Linked DNA regions of Homo sapiens: region 2 is linked to region 1. The links are contacts of gene promoters, found by promoter capture Hi-C in blood cells and fetal thymus (Javierre and others, 2016). All regions are on one chromosome and are shown on one strand. Each heading gives the region's core, a stretch centred on a gene start or on the middle of the fragment in contact. The rest is flanking DNA. Distances are from core to core; before and after follow the strand shown. Region 1 holds the start of GCN1 (GCN1 activator of EIF2AK4). Region 2 holds the start of GIT2 (GIT ArfGAP 2).

The links. Contacts are between HindIII fragments. The CHiCAGO score rates a contact against its expected background, and 5 or more counts as called.
Region 2: the fragment with the promoter of GIT2 here is called in contact with the fragment with the promoter of GCN1 in region 1 in 1 of 17 cell types (total CD4 T cells); the score reaches 6.3 in total CD4 T cells.

What each region holds. Positions count from the first base shown.
Region 1 is chr12:120,192,430-120,198,462 of GRCh38, reverse strand. It overlaps GCN1 (GCN1 activator of EIF2AK4), which reads left to right and starts at 3,748. Exons shown (of 58, transcript NM_006836.2): 1 at 3,748-3,783. The coding sequence starts at 3,766. RPLP0 (ribosomal protein lateral stalk subunit P0) reads left to right here. Exons shown (of 8, transcript NM_001002.4): 7 at 1,001-1,141; 8 at 1,529-1,764. The coding sequence ends at 1,690. RefSeq lists an enhancer at 1-267 and a silencer at 3,451-4,040. The HindIII fragment of the contact is 5,843 bases long and covers 1-4,712 here.
Region 2 is chr12:109,993,636-109,999,668 of GRCh38, reverse strand. GIT2 (GIT ArfGAP 2) reads left to right here and starts at 3,301. Exons shown (of 20, transcript NM_057169.5): 1 at 3,301-3,496. The coding sequence starts at 3,445. ANKRD13A (ankyrin repeat domain 13A) reads right to left here and starts at 239. Exons shown (of 15, transcript NM_033121.2): 1 at 1-239. RefSeq lists silencers at 26-115, 126-245, 3,561-3,650 and enhancers at 326-515, 3,131-3,290, 3,981-4,030. The HindIII fragment of the contact is 1,710 bases long and covers 2,926-4,635 here.

The DNA of each region.
Region 1 (6,033 bases), core at 2,499-4,998:
CATCTGTCTACCTACCTCATCTGTAAAATGTCAGTAACAACATAAGATTGTTGAAGGATTTTTTTTTTTTTTTTTTGGAGACAGAGTCTTGCTGTGTCGCCCAGGCTGGAGTGCAGTGGCACAATCTCCCGGCTCACTGCAAGCTCCGCCTCCGGGTTCACACCATTCTCCTGCCTCAGCCTCCTGAGTAGCTGGGACTACAGGCACCCGCCACTACGCCCGGCTAATTTTTTTGTATTTTTAGGTTTCACCGCGTTAGCCAGGATGGTGTCGATCTCCTGACCTCGTGATCCGCCCAACTCGGCCTCCCAAAGTGCTGGGATTACAGGCATGAGCCACCACGCCTGGCCAAAGGATTTAATGAATTAATGGATGTACAGTGCTGGGGCTGTTATTCTAGGGCCTGCATTGAGACTCACATTTTGCCATCAAAAGCCTTTTAAGAGGTGGAGGTTGCGGTGAGCTGACATGGTGCCACTGCACTCCGGCCTGAGTGACAGAGTGAGACTCTGTCTCACAAAAAAAATAATGCCCTTTAAATAATGAATAATAGTGATAGAAAATGTCATTTCTTGGACAAATGAAAAATTGAAATTAATGTATATAATTAGATATTATTAGCTACTCTTAGGTAGCTTCATTTGTTGAAAGTTTGACAAGTGAATGAAGTTCACATCTGGAAATCGTTGAACATTTTTCGTTCATGGAACTCAATGGCTACGTTAGTCGTTTATGCTTTTCACTGTTGTGGTAGGGGCTTTGGAAGTAAATGCCATCAACAATGGATACAGAAGACCTGGATTTGGAATAAGGGCAAAATTTATTTGATGGGGCTGAATTGCTCTGCCAGGAGCATTTGGTATGAGATGAAATGGCCTCTCTTGAGACTGAGCTGCCAACCTGGCAATTATTGTCTGCTAAGGGTTCTCTTTATTCACCCTTACTTGGACTTCCTTTCCTGTAGGGAATCTCACGTAAAATGAAATCTTCCCTCCCCCAGGGTGTCCGCAATGTTGCCAGTGTCTGTCTGCAGATTGGCTACCCAACTGTTGCATCAGTACCCCATTCTATCATCAACGGGTACAAACGAGTCCTGGCCTTGTCTGTGGAGACGGATTACACCTTCCCACTTGCTGAAAAGGTAAAAGGATCCCACCAGGACCACAGTGGGCCTGACTGTGACAAATTAGCAGGGTGATGTGGCCTTCTACCTTACTGCTTTTATAGTTGTATTTTATATAGCAGATAATTTTGTGAGGGGATATTTGAGAGGTTGGGAGGCAGGGAAGGCGTTTCTCACTTGAGAAATGACAAGAGACCCAAAGAGGGGGTTAATGGGCAAGAGCTGGGCCTTAGGAACCCTGCCTCACTAGGCCATACCCAAGCTGTCCTGCTTGGGCTGCTTCTGACAGGAAAGGCTTCACACGGACTTTGATATTGTTGGTCCTTAAACTCTACCAAGGCAGGAGGGTGGTGGGTAATAGAGGAGTGTGGATGACCATTTTGACCACTTCCCCCCTCCTTTCAGGTCAAGGCCTTCTTGGCTGATCCATCTGCCTTTGTGGCTGCTGCCCCTGTGGCTGCTGCCACCACAGCTGCTCCTGCTGCTGCTGCAGCCCCAGCTAAGGTTGAAGCCAAGGAAGAGTCGGAGGAGTCGGACGAGGATATGGGATTTGGTCTCTTTGACTAATCACCAAAAAGCAACCAACTTAGCCAGTTTTATTTGCAAAACAAGGAAATAAAGGCTTACTTCTTTAAAAAGTCTCTGGACTCTTAATTTTGTAATTTTTTTTCCTTTTTGACACAGGGTCTGGCTGTTGCCCAGGCTGGAGTGTGGTGGTGTAATCATAACTCACTGCACCCTTGAACTCCTGGGATCAAGGGATCCTCGTATCTCAGCCTCCCAAGTAGCTGGGACTACAGGCACACACCATGACACTCAGCTACTAATTTTTAAATTTTTTTTTTGTAGAGATATTGCACAAGCTGGTCTCAAATTCCTGGCCTCAAGGAATCCTGCCTCAGCCTCCCAAAGTGCTAGGATTACAGGCTTGAGCCACCATGTGCCTGGCCCTTAATTTTGAGGTTTATAGTGCCATATGCTAGAAACGAAAGCCATGGTAAAACCAGAGCTTTGTATTTAGGTGTTGATGTTTGGGTATCTAAATGAAGCTACCAATCAAACATCCTATACAGTTTTCTAGACACAGTTGTAACTATTACACTAGAATTACTGTTTCTATGGCTGCTGCATACTTGGAGTAGGTTTAGTGTCAGCTGAGATAGGCACCTGGTGGATGCTGGGGCCAGTCCCCTAGAGTAAAGTTTTTCAAACTGGGTGGTGCTCCAACTCGGTGGTAACCAATTTATATTTTCGAGATAGTCTCAAATATATTTGAGACTGGGGTGCAGTGGCTTGGACTTGGCTCACTGCAACCTCCGCCTCCTGGGTTCAAGTGATTCTCCTGCCTCAGCCTCCCAAGTAGCTGCAATTACCGGAGGCTGCCACCACACCGGGCTAATTTTTTTGTTGTTGAGACAGTCTCGTCCTGTCACCCAGACTGGAGTGCAATGGTATGGTCTCAGCTCACTGCAACCTCTGCCTCTCGGGTTCAAGCGGTTCTCCCACCTCAGCCTCCCCAGTAGCTGGGACTACAGGCATGTGCCACCACTCGGCTAATTTTTGTACTTTTAGTAGAGACGGGGTTTCACTATGTTGGCCAGGCTGGTCTGGAACTCCTGACCTTGTGATCTGCCCGCCCTGTCCTCCCGAAGCGCTGGAATTATACAAGGGTGAGCCACCGCACCCGGCCTTTTTTTTTTTTTTTTTTTTTTTTGGTATTTTTAGTAGAGACAAGGTTTTGTCATGTTGACCAGGCTGGTCTGGAAATCCTAACATCAGGTTGATCTACCCACCTCAGCCTCCCAAAGTGCTGGGATTACAGGCGTGAGCCACCATGCCTGGCCCCAGTATTTAAAGAGAAAGCAGCATCTGCTGAGAATAGGTGTTTTTGTTGTGATTCCTGTATTTCACTTAGAGATCTGTCTGCTGGAACATGATATATTCATTCTAACTAGGTCTGTGTCAAAGGTTTGAAAGCCACTGCTAACAGGGCTGACAACTAAGCTGTGGAGACCCTGTTCCCTAAATTGCAGCCACGTCTGCACGTAGCCTCTTGCCCTGTGGCCTTCAAAACTCCCAGCCTGGGGCGTCCAGCATTTCCCCAGGGCAGGGGCCTCGTTCAGTTCTGAACCTTCCCTGACCTCCGTATCCAGCCACGTTTGCTAACCCTGTACAAGTCATCCGCCAACTGAACTACAAACTGAGGACAAAAGACTAGTTCACCGACTCTTTTACCTAGTTTTTAGTTCCTGCTATCTAGGAAGCAACACTTGTTTTTCTAAAGAACTTAGTCATCACTCAGGAAAGGCCCACGTAGGGCTGGCCCTGCGGGCTGGAAGTGGGTCAGGGGCTGCAAGGCGGGCCCATAGCGTTACACCGCGGGCTCACCACGTTACAAGCGCTAGTCTCCCACGAGGCGCCCGGGGCTGAAGAGCGGGCCCTGGGGAGGAGGCCTTGTGGCTCGGGCGCGGGCCAACTTTAAGCCCGTGATCCGGCTGCCCGGGCTGCAGCGGCCGCCGTCCTGCCCGGGGGCACCAAGCCCGGGGCCCTGCCCCCGCTGGCTCCCGGCCTCGCCCTGCCGCGTGGGCCACGCTGTGACCCGGAAGCGTTCCGGAAGCGGTTCCGGAGTCAGCCCCGGCAGGATGGCGGCGGACACGCAGGTGAGGCGGGCGGCTGCGGGGCCAACGCGGCCAGGGACTGGGTGCGGACGGTGGCCGTCGGGCGGGGCCCCTCTCGCTCCTCGGCTTAGGGGCGTTGGAGGTGGTGGCTGTGGAGGTCGTAGTCTCGGGGCCGTCTCAGGCTGGACTCTCAGGGCTGCGGGCTTGGCCCGGCCCGGGCGGCGCAGGCAGACCGCGGGCTCGAGGAGTCCGGGGCTCCCGCCTCGACTTCAGCAGCTGGAGCTCGGCGGGGCCTTTGCCCGACCCCAGAGTTGCAGAAGTTCACTTTACCGAGCCTCTACTTCTTTTCTCCAAAGCCCTCCGGCTGTGAGCCCCGGGCCAACGCCAAGTCTTCCTTAAACTTTGTATTCAGCAAATATTCTTTGAGCACCTACTATGAGCAGGGACTTTGAGTGTAGTCTTTGGATTCATACAGATCTGGGCTTGAGTTCCTGCTCGTCGATTTCTGTGACATGCCAAACAAGTGACTTAACCCCGCCAAGTCTGCCTTTTCATCTATAAAATGAAGTTAAAACAATACTTATCTTAAAAGGTTGTTGTGAAGGTTCAGTGAGATAAAATACGGCTTGATATATGTTGGTTGTTATCAGATCCAGGGTTAGTGAAAAGAACTGTCCTGTCCAGGAAGAGTGTTACCTATGGGTACCTTGTAGTTCAGGAAGGACCTGGGAAAACCTTTTCCTCCACCCAGTTGTTATGTTTTAAGGTGAAAAGACATTGTCATGAGGCAGGGGAAGAACAGGTGTCTAAGGACAGCTGGGCTGATTTGGTGTCTCCAGGGTGATGGGATTGATTTTTATGTGTAGGCCCAGAAAATGACCACTTAAGCATTCAAAAAGACATTTACTGAGACTCCTATGCAGGTGGCTGATGTTCAAGTTATGTTGTACTGAATACTAGAAAGAAAAGCTTAGTATGAGAGGGTTAGGGGAATACATGCTGAATGTTTAACATTGATACTCACTTGAGGGAAAAATCTCTAGAGCTGCAATGTCCAGTATGGCAGCCACATGGCTTAAGTTTGTTAAAATTAAATTAAATAAAAAAATTCATTGTTTGGCTGGGCGTGGTGGCTCACCCTGTAATCCCAGCACTTTGGGAGGCCAAGGCGGGTGGATCAGTTGAGGTCAGGAGTTTGAGACTAGTCTGACCAACGTGGCAAAACCCCGTCTCTACTAAAAATGCAAAAAATTAACCGGGTATGGTGGCATGTCTGTAATTCCAGCTACTCAGGAGGCTGAGGCATGAGAATCGCTTGAACCTGGGAGGCAGAGGTTGCAGTGAGCTGAGATCGCACCACTGCGCTCCAGCCTGAGCAACAAGAGTGGGACTCTGTCTCAAAAAAAAAAAAAATTTAGTTCTTCACTTGTACCAGCCACATTTCAGTGCACAGTTAGCCACATGTAGCCAGTGGCTACCGTATTGGGTGGTGCAGGAGAATATTTCTGTATTTTATAATTTTTGTATTTTTAGTAGAGATGGGGTTTCTCCATGTTGGCCAGGCTGGTCTCGAATTCCTGACCTCAGGTGATCCTTCTGCCTTGGCCTCCCAAAGTGCTGGGATTACAGGCGTGAGCCACCGCACCTGGCCTGAAATTATTTTTTATTATTTTATTTTATTTTTTGAGACGGAGTTTCTCTCTTGTTGCCCAGGCTGGAGTGCAATGGCACGATCTGAACTCACTGCAACCTCTGCCTCCCAGGTTCAAGCAATTCTCCTGCCTCAGCTTCCCGAGTAGCTGGGATTACAGGCATGCGCCACCATGCCCGGCTAGTTTTTGTAGAGACAGGGTTTCACCATGTTGGGTAGGCTGGTCTCGAACTTCTGACCTCAAGCAATCTGTCCGCCTCTGTCTCCCAAAGTGCTGGGATTACAGGCGTGAACCACCATGCCCGGCCTTGTCTTCAGTATTCTTTTTTTTTTTTTTTCGAGACGGAGTCTCGCTCTGTCGCCCAGGCTAGAGTGCAGTGGCACAATCTTGGCTCACTACAACCTCTGCCTCCCGGGTTCAAGCGATTCTTCTGCCTCAGCCTCCCAAGTAGCTGGGATTACAGGCACCCGGCACCACGCCCAGCTAATTTTTTTTTTTGTATTTTTAGTAGAGACGCGGTTTCACCATGTTGGCCAGGATGGTCTCGATCTCCTGACCTTGTGATCTGCCTGCCTTGGCCTCCCAAAGTGCTGGGATTACAGGCGTGAGCCACTGCACCCAGCCTTGTCTTCAGTATTCT
Region 2 (6,033 bases), core at 2,052-4,551, about 10 Mb after region 1:
GTCCTCGTCGCCCGCCCCAAGTCTCGGCCCCGGCGGGGTCTCCCGCGCCCGCCTGCCTGCCCTGAGGCCGGCGAGCAAGCGAGCGTAGGGCGTGTTACGCTGCCGGCCGGCTGAGCCGGTCGGGTGCGGGGCGCGCGGGAGGTCCGGGGTCGCCGGCCGGCTCAGGGACCAGGTCGGCCGCGCCCACCCCGCGCCCCGCGGCGTTCCCGCCCGCGCTGACAGCTCGCGGACAGACTTCTGCGGACCTAACTGCCCCAAACAGGGAAGTGCGGAGAGCGAACCACCGCATGCCGCGGCGGGGATAGGCGACCTTGGGCACCGGGTCCGGGGTCCGCGCCATTGCACCCACCTCCAGCTCACACCGAGAAACTCAGTGCAGCCCACAGAACAGAGCTGAGGCTCATTCTCTTGGCCAAAGATCTCCACGCGGAAAGTTCCGTCTACCTGTCCCCAGCTTCTTTCCCCCTGCTCCAGTAGCCCCATGTGGTTCGGTCCACAACTGGGCCTCTTCCATTGGCTCTGAAGTCAGGGGGTGACAACTGAGCCCCGGACCAAACCATTCCAGCTGCCGACACCCTTGCAGCCTTTTTGGAGCAGGACAGATGCTTCCACGACGGGTCAAAAGCCATTTTGGAAGTGGGCAACACCGGACAATTTTTGAAGGAGGAACGCTAAACCCTGGCGAAGTGGCTTCAAATACAGTATTTGCATAAAAGGGGATATTTCTACTTCATGATTTCTCAACCTCGGCACATATTGAACTGGGCAGTTTTTGTGTGGGGGTTGTCCGGTCCTTGTAGGATGCTGAGCAGTTGCCCTGGTCTTTCTCCCCACTCAATGCCAGTAGCACTCCCCAAAACATGTCTCTCCAGATATTGCCAAATGTCGTCTCGGGGAGAAAAATCGTCCTCAGTTGAGAACCGCTTCTATTTGAACTCCGAACCGGGTTATGATTCAATAGCTAACTATGGTGGTGATTTAGTCCATGTATGAATGTCATTTTTAAGCTAGCTTTTTGGATTTGAGGTTATGGCTGAAAGGACTGATAAATAATATACATATTTGACCACAGTCTGCGAATATGAAGTTTATTCTTTGAGTTTCAGGCACTATGCCTCCTTGACTCAATGAAGAACCAAATCAACTTACAGCTAGCTACTCATGGGCTTGAACTTTCTGCTGCTGCTTCAGCTCAGCTGTCTACAACTAGACCACATAGCTGGATGAAGCTATTTAATGCATTGTGAAAACATTCCCTCTGCCCTCTGAGTGTATGCACATCCAGCTCTTCAGATGCCTGCAACAACAGCTGTTCAAGAATCCCAACCTAATCCATTCTCCACAGATGTGGAGCCCAGAAGATTTGTGAGTTGTTAAACCAAAACAGGATGCAGGAGCACCAGGATGGCACCCGGAGACTCTAACCATGGAATGCGTGGGAATTCTGTGATTATTTCTCCATCACACATTTATCACACTGTAGAGATGGACTCAAGACCAGTGCTTCTGAGGCCTTTTCCAGCACTTCTCATTCTTTCAGATGCCTTTTGCAACTTAACGTTCTCCTTCTTCTTCATCATGCCGTGTTTATTGAAAATCTCCCTATCTCATTAATCAGAAAACCCCATAATGACAGGAACCACATCGTTTTGCTTACCAGAGTATCTAAAACCAAAATAGTACCTGGCTAACAACAGGCATTCAATATTTGCTGAATGGAGATCATAGCTGTGTTTATATGTAAGACAGACAATAAGTAGTCATTGGTATTAGGGTCACATCTCCTTTCTCCTTCACACTGATTTACCTCATTTCATTGTGTTTATCTCACACCATTTTGTAAATTATCCCATGTTAGCTATTGTTATTCTCAAATTCCACGCATATGAAGAAAAACAGTAATTAGAAAATAATAGCAATATCCATAATTATGGGAGCTACTATTTACTGAGGGGTTACTATCCAGCAGGTGTATCACATTTTTCCCATAATTTATTCCATCTGTCCTTAGCCAAAATGAATGTTTAACTTTGCTGGTCACATACAAGTTTTGTCGCATATTCTTCTTCCTCTTTTTCTTTATTTCCCTCTCTCTCTTCTTCATTTTCATCTCGCAACCCTTTAAAAATGTAAAAATCATTCTTAAGTAGCAAGCCATACAAAAACAAATCGTGGACTAGAAGTAAACAATGCATTATCTTAATTTTGAACATGAGATTAAAACTGAAGCCTAAGGAATCATCTAATATATTCTTTTTTGTTATTTTTGTTGTTGTTGTTGAAGTTGTTTTTGAGACAGTCTCGCTCTGTCCCCCAGGCTGGAGTGCAGTGACGCGATCTCTGCTCACTGCAACGTCCACCTCCCAGGCTCAAGCGATTCTCATGCCTCAGCCTCCTGAGTATCTAGGATTACAGGCATGCGCCACCACGCCCGGCTAATTTTTTTTTTTTTTTTTTTTTTTTTGAGACGGAGTCTCACTCTGTCGCCCATGCTGGAGTGCAATGGCGTGATCTCAGCTCACTGCAACCTCCACCCCCTGGGTTCAAGCTCCTGCCTCAGCCTCCCAAGTAACTGAGATTACAGGCTCCTGCCACTGTGCCCGGCTAATTTTTGTATTTTTAGTAGAGACGGGGTTTCACCATGTTGGCCAGGCTGGTCTTGAACTCCTGACCTCGTGATCCACCCGCCTCGGCCTCCCAAAGTGCTGGGATTACAGGCGTGAGCCACCGCGCCCGGCCAATTTTTGTATTTTTAGTAGAGATGGGGTTTCACCATGTTGCCCAGGCTGGTCTCGAACTCCTGCCTCAAGTGATCCTCCTGCCTCAGCCTTCCAAAGAGTTGAGATTACAAGAGTGAGCCACCACGCCCAGCCTGGAATCATATAATATATTCTTATTTTACTTTACCCCAGTAAAATGCAAGCTTCATAAGGACTAGAAATTCAGTCTTTGCTCACTGCTGTTTCTCCAGTGGCTGGGACAGTATATAAAGCATGGTAAGTGCTTGATAAACATTTGTTGAATCAAGGAATGAATGAATGAACTTGACCATTGATTGCCTCAGGAAGGTTGTGGCTGCAGGGTTCTCATCACAAGATATTGCTACTTCCCCTGGTATTAATCAGTTGGGACGAGGGGAATCTCTGCCAGAGAAGAAGACCCAAATTCAATATTTAAAGGTAGGACAGATGATACTCGGGCAGTCTCCTGCCCTCACTCAAGATGGCGACAAGGCAGAGTGCCCTTTCCGGTCACATGACCTGACACTCGCCGAAGGGCACCTCCCCGCGCGTGCGTGCTGTGCCAAGGCTGCAAGGCGCTGAGGGGAGAGGCGCCGCCGTCAGCGCCGCCGCAGCTGGGACCCGTTAGAGCGGAAGCGCCGCCGCCACCGCCGCCTTTGCTGTCCCCCGGCCTCTAGTTCCCCGCAGGTGGGAGGTGGGAGCCATGTCGAAACGGCTCCGGAGCAGCGAGGTGTGCGCTGACTGCAGCGGGCCGGGTGAGTCGCACCGGCCGGGCCCGCTCCCCTCTGCTTTCCTGGCCCGGACCCCTACCCCGGGGCCGCCCCCTCAGGTCAGGCTGCATCCCGCGGCTAGGGTCGCAACGAAGAGGTCCCTGGGCGGCCTTGGGGTGGGAACCGTCCCGGGCCTGTCAGAGCCGGGCGGGCAGGGGGCCGCCGCCCTCCCCGTCCCTCGCGGCCCTCCCTTCCCTCTCGTTCCCTCCCGTTCCCTCCGTCCTAGGCCAACTGGGGAGGTGACGGGGGCCAGGGCTGCTCCCCCAACAGGAAGGGGCTTGGGCAATCCACAGGAAAGCCAATTACAGAAGTAAAATGTGAGCGTCCTCCCGGCTGCAGCCTCCAGAGGCTGCAGGTGTCACCTCCCACTAGACCCTTTCTCCGCCTGGGTGTCCTGCCCGGGGAGGATGACACTCCCTGAGACTCGCCAGAGGGTCCCCGTAGATGACTTCCCCGCTGCTGACATCCGACAGCTACTCTGCCCGGGAGAATTGCCAGGAGATCGGGGTCTTCCAAACACAACCAGCACTTAGGAGGCAGTGCTTGTCTCAAGTTTGAGGATCTGAACGGCCTGGGTTCAAACTAGATTTTGCTTCTGGCTGACCTTGGGCTGGTGACTTCACTTGGTCACTTGCTTGATTTCCTCATTTTTTTCAATGAGGATAATCGGGAGTATCACGCTTAGTGGTGAGGAAGATTCAATGAATACTCGTAGAATCATATCATCTAAGGCTTTTCTTTTTTGCATTATGCTGTCTACAGTAGAACTCTTGTAGTCCCTTAAAGCTATATTTGACTATCTAAATCATACGTTGATTACAACGGAAACAAACGCAAAATCACCAGCAATATAGGGGCATTGAAACGCTAAAGCCATTCCTTCATAATGATGCATAACTGTTCATACATAATATTCACATTTAGAGATCAAGTGTGTCTTAGCAATTGCAACTGAATTGTCAGGTCTCTGGATAGATTATTACATGCTGTTTTAGGTGCTTGGATGTATTGGCTTTGAGTTAATTCGAAGGTAACATGGCTTTCTTGGCACAATAGTGTCCGATAAACAATCTTAATTAAATCATTGAACACCACTGGCTTTGCAACTGTTCTGATCTTAAGCTTGTCATTTGGAAGTGGAGACCAATTGTAAATAGAACTGTGATAACTCAAACCTCATGTGGTTGTTTTATGGCCCGTACAGTGCAGGTGTTACCAGTTTCCTTTGAAGATAGGGAGGGGGTATGGAGGAGTTTAAAAAGAAGTGTTTTCTAAACCAAGTTAGTGTGAGTTATACAAACTCCATCATTTTCTCTAAAAATGTTATTTGTTCCACTTCCTTATTTTCTTGCCTATTTTCAGTTGAACTTACCGTGATGTATTTGATTCACATGTGTCTAGCTTCTAACTTCCTCTTGGAATGCATATTGTTTTGCTTCTTGATAGGGTACAGGGCAAAGCAAAATTGTTCCTCCATTGCCATCCTAAATATACTTTTGCAGCATTTTGTGCATTTCAGAACATTTTCTCTTCCATTGTATCGCTTTAGTTGTTGTCTCATACGCCTAATCTGCAGAGACTTGAGTCACTTCCTTCCTGTTTTGAATATAATTAGGCTACCTTGAAATATTCTGTGAAATTGAGCAGCTGGGAATTTGTGCTGCCTTTTCTGCACAGCCCTACTGAGAGAATTACCTGTAGGGTTAGGGACCCCTTTGAGATTCTGTTGAATGCTAAGGCCTTCTCCCCTAAAATGCACGTGAACGAATTTACCTAAGATTTGTCTGGGGGAGTCACAAACATTTTTGAAGTTCATTTGTGGTGTCCCTGGAGCCCTGGCTCCAGATGAACTTAAAGGGTTTTACCCAATCTCATTCATACAAACATTTTTATTTTACTATGTTAACATTCTAATATTCTTTCCATGGGATTCTGATCCAGGATGCTAAAGTGGTTAGTCGAATACTTGTCTTAATTAATATGTGTTAAATACTTGCTAAAAAAAGAATACTGCAAATCCTCTGAATAAGTGAAAACCAAAGCTATGCTTCAAAACAGTCTTTTTTTTTTTTTTTTTTTTTTGCCATTAGTGTCAGTACTATACTGCAGGAAGCAGTGTTGTTAATGCATCTTTGTAGAGCTCCTTCATCTGGACATTTCCAATCTCTGCTTTTTAGGATGATACAGTAATAGCGACAGAGTTATACTAAATTGAATTATTTTGATTCTGTTTTATTTTATGCAAACATTTAACCATGATCACATCTTCTTAAATATTCTACTTTTTTTTTTTTAATGAATCTGGTTCATTTCAAATACATCACACTCTGAGTTCAATTACTTGAAAACTCCATGGAGATTTTCAGTACAGTAGTAGAGTGGTCACATGAAATGTTCAATGTTTTAAGTATTTCCCATCAAAAACTTTGTCCAGTGATCATGAATTTCACGTCTAGAAAATATCTGAATACTGAGAAAATAATTTAGAAAAGATATAACAACTAACATTACTACTTTACTAT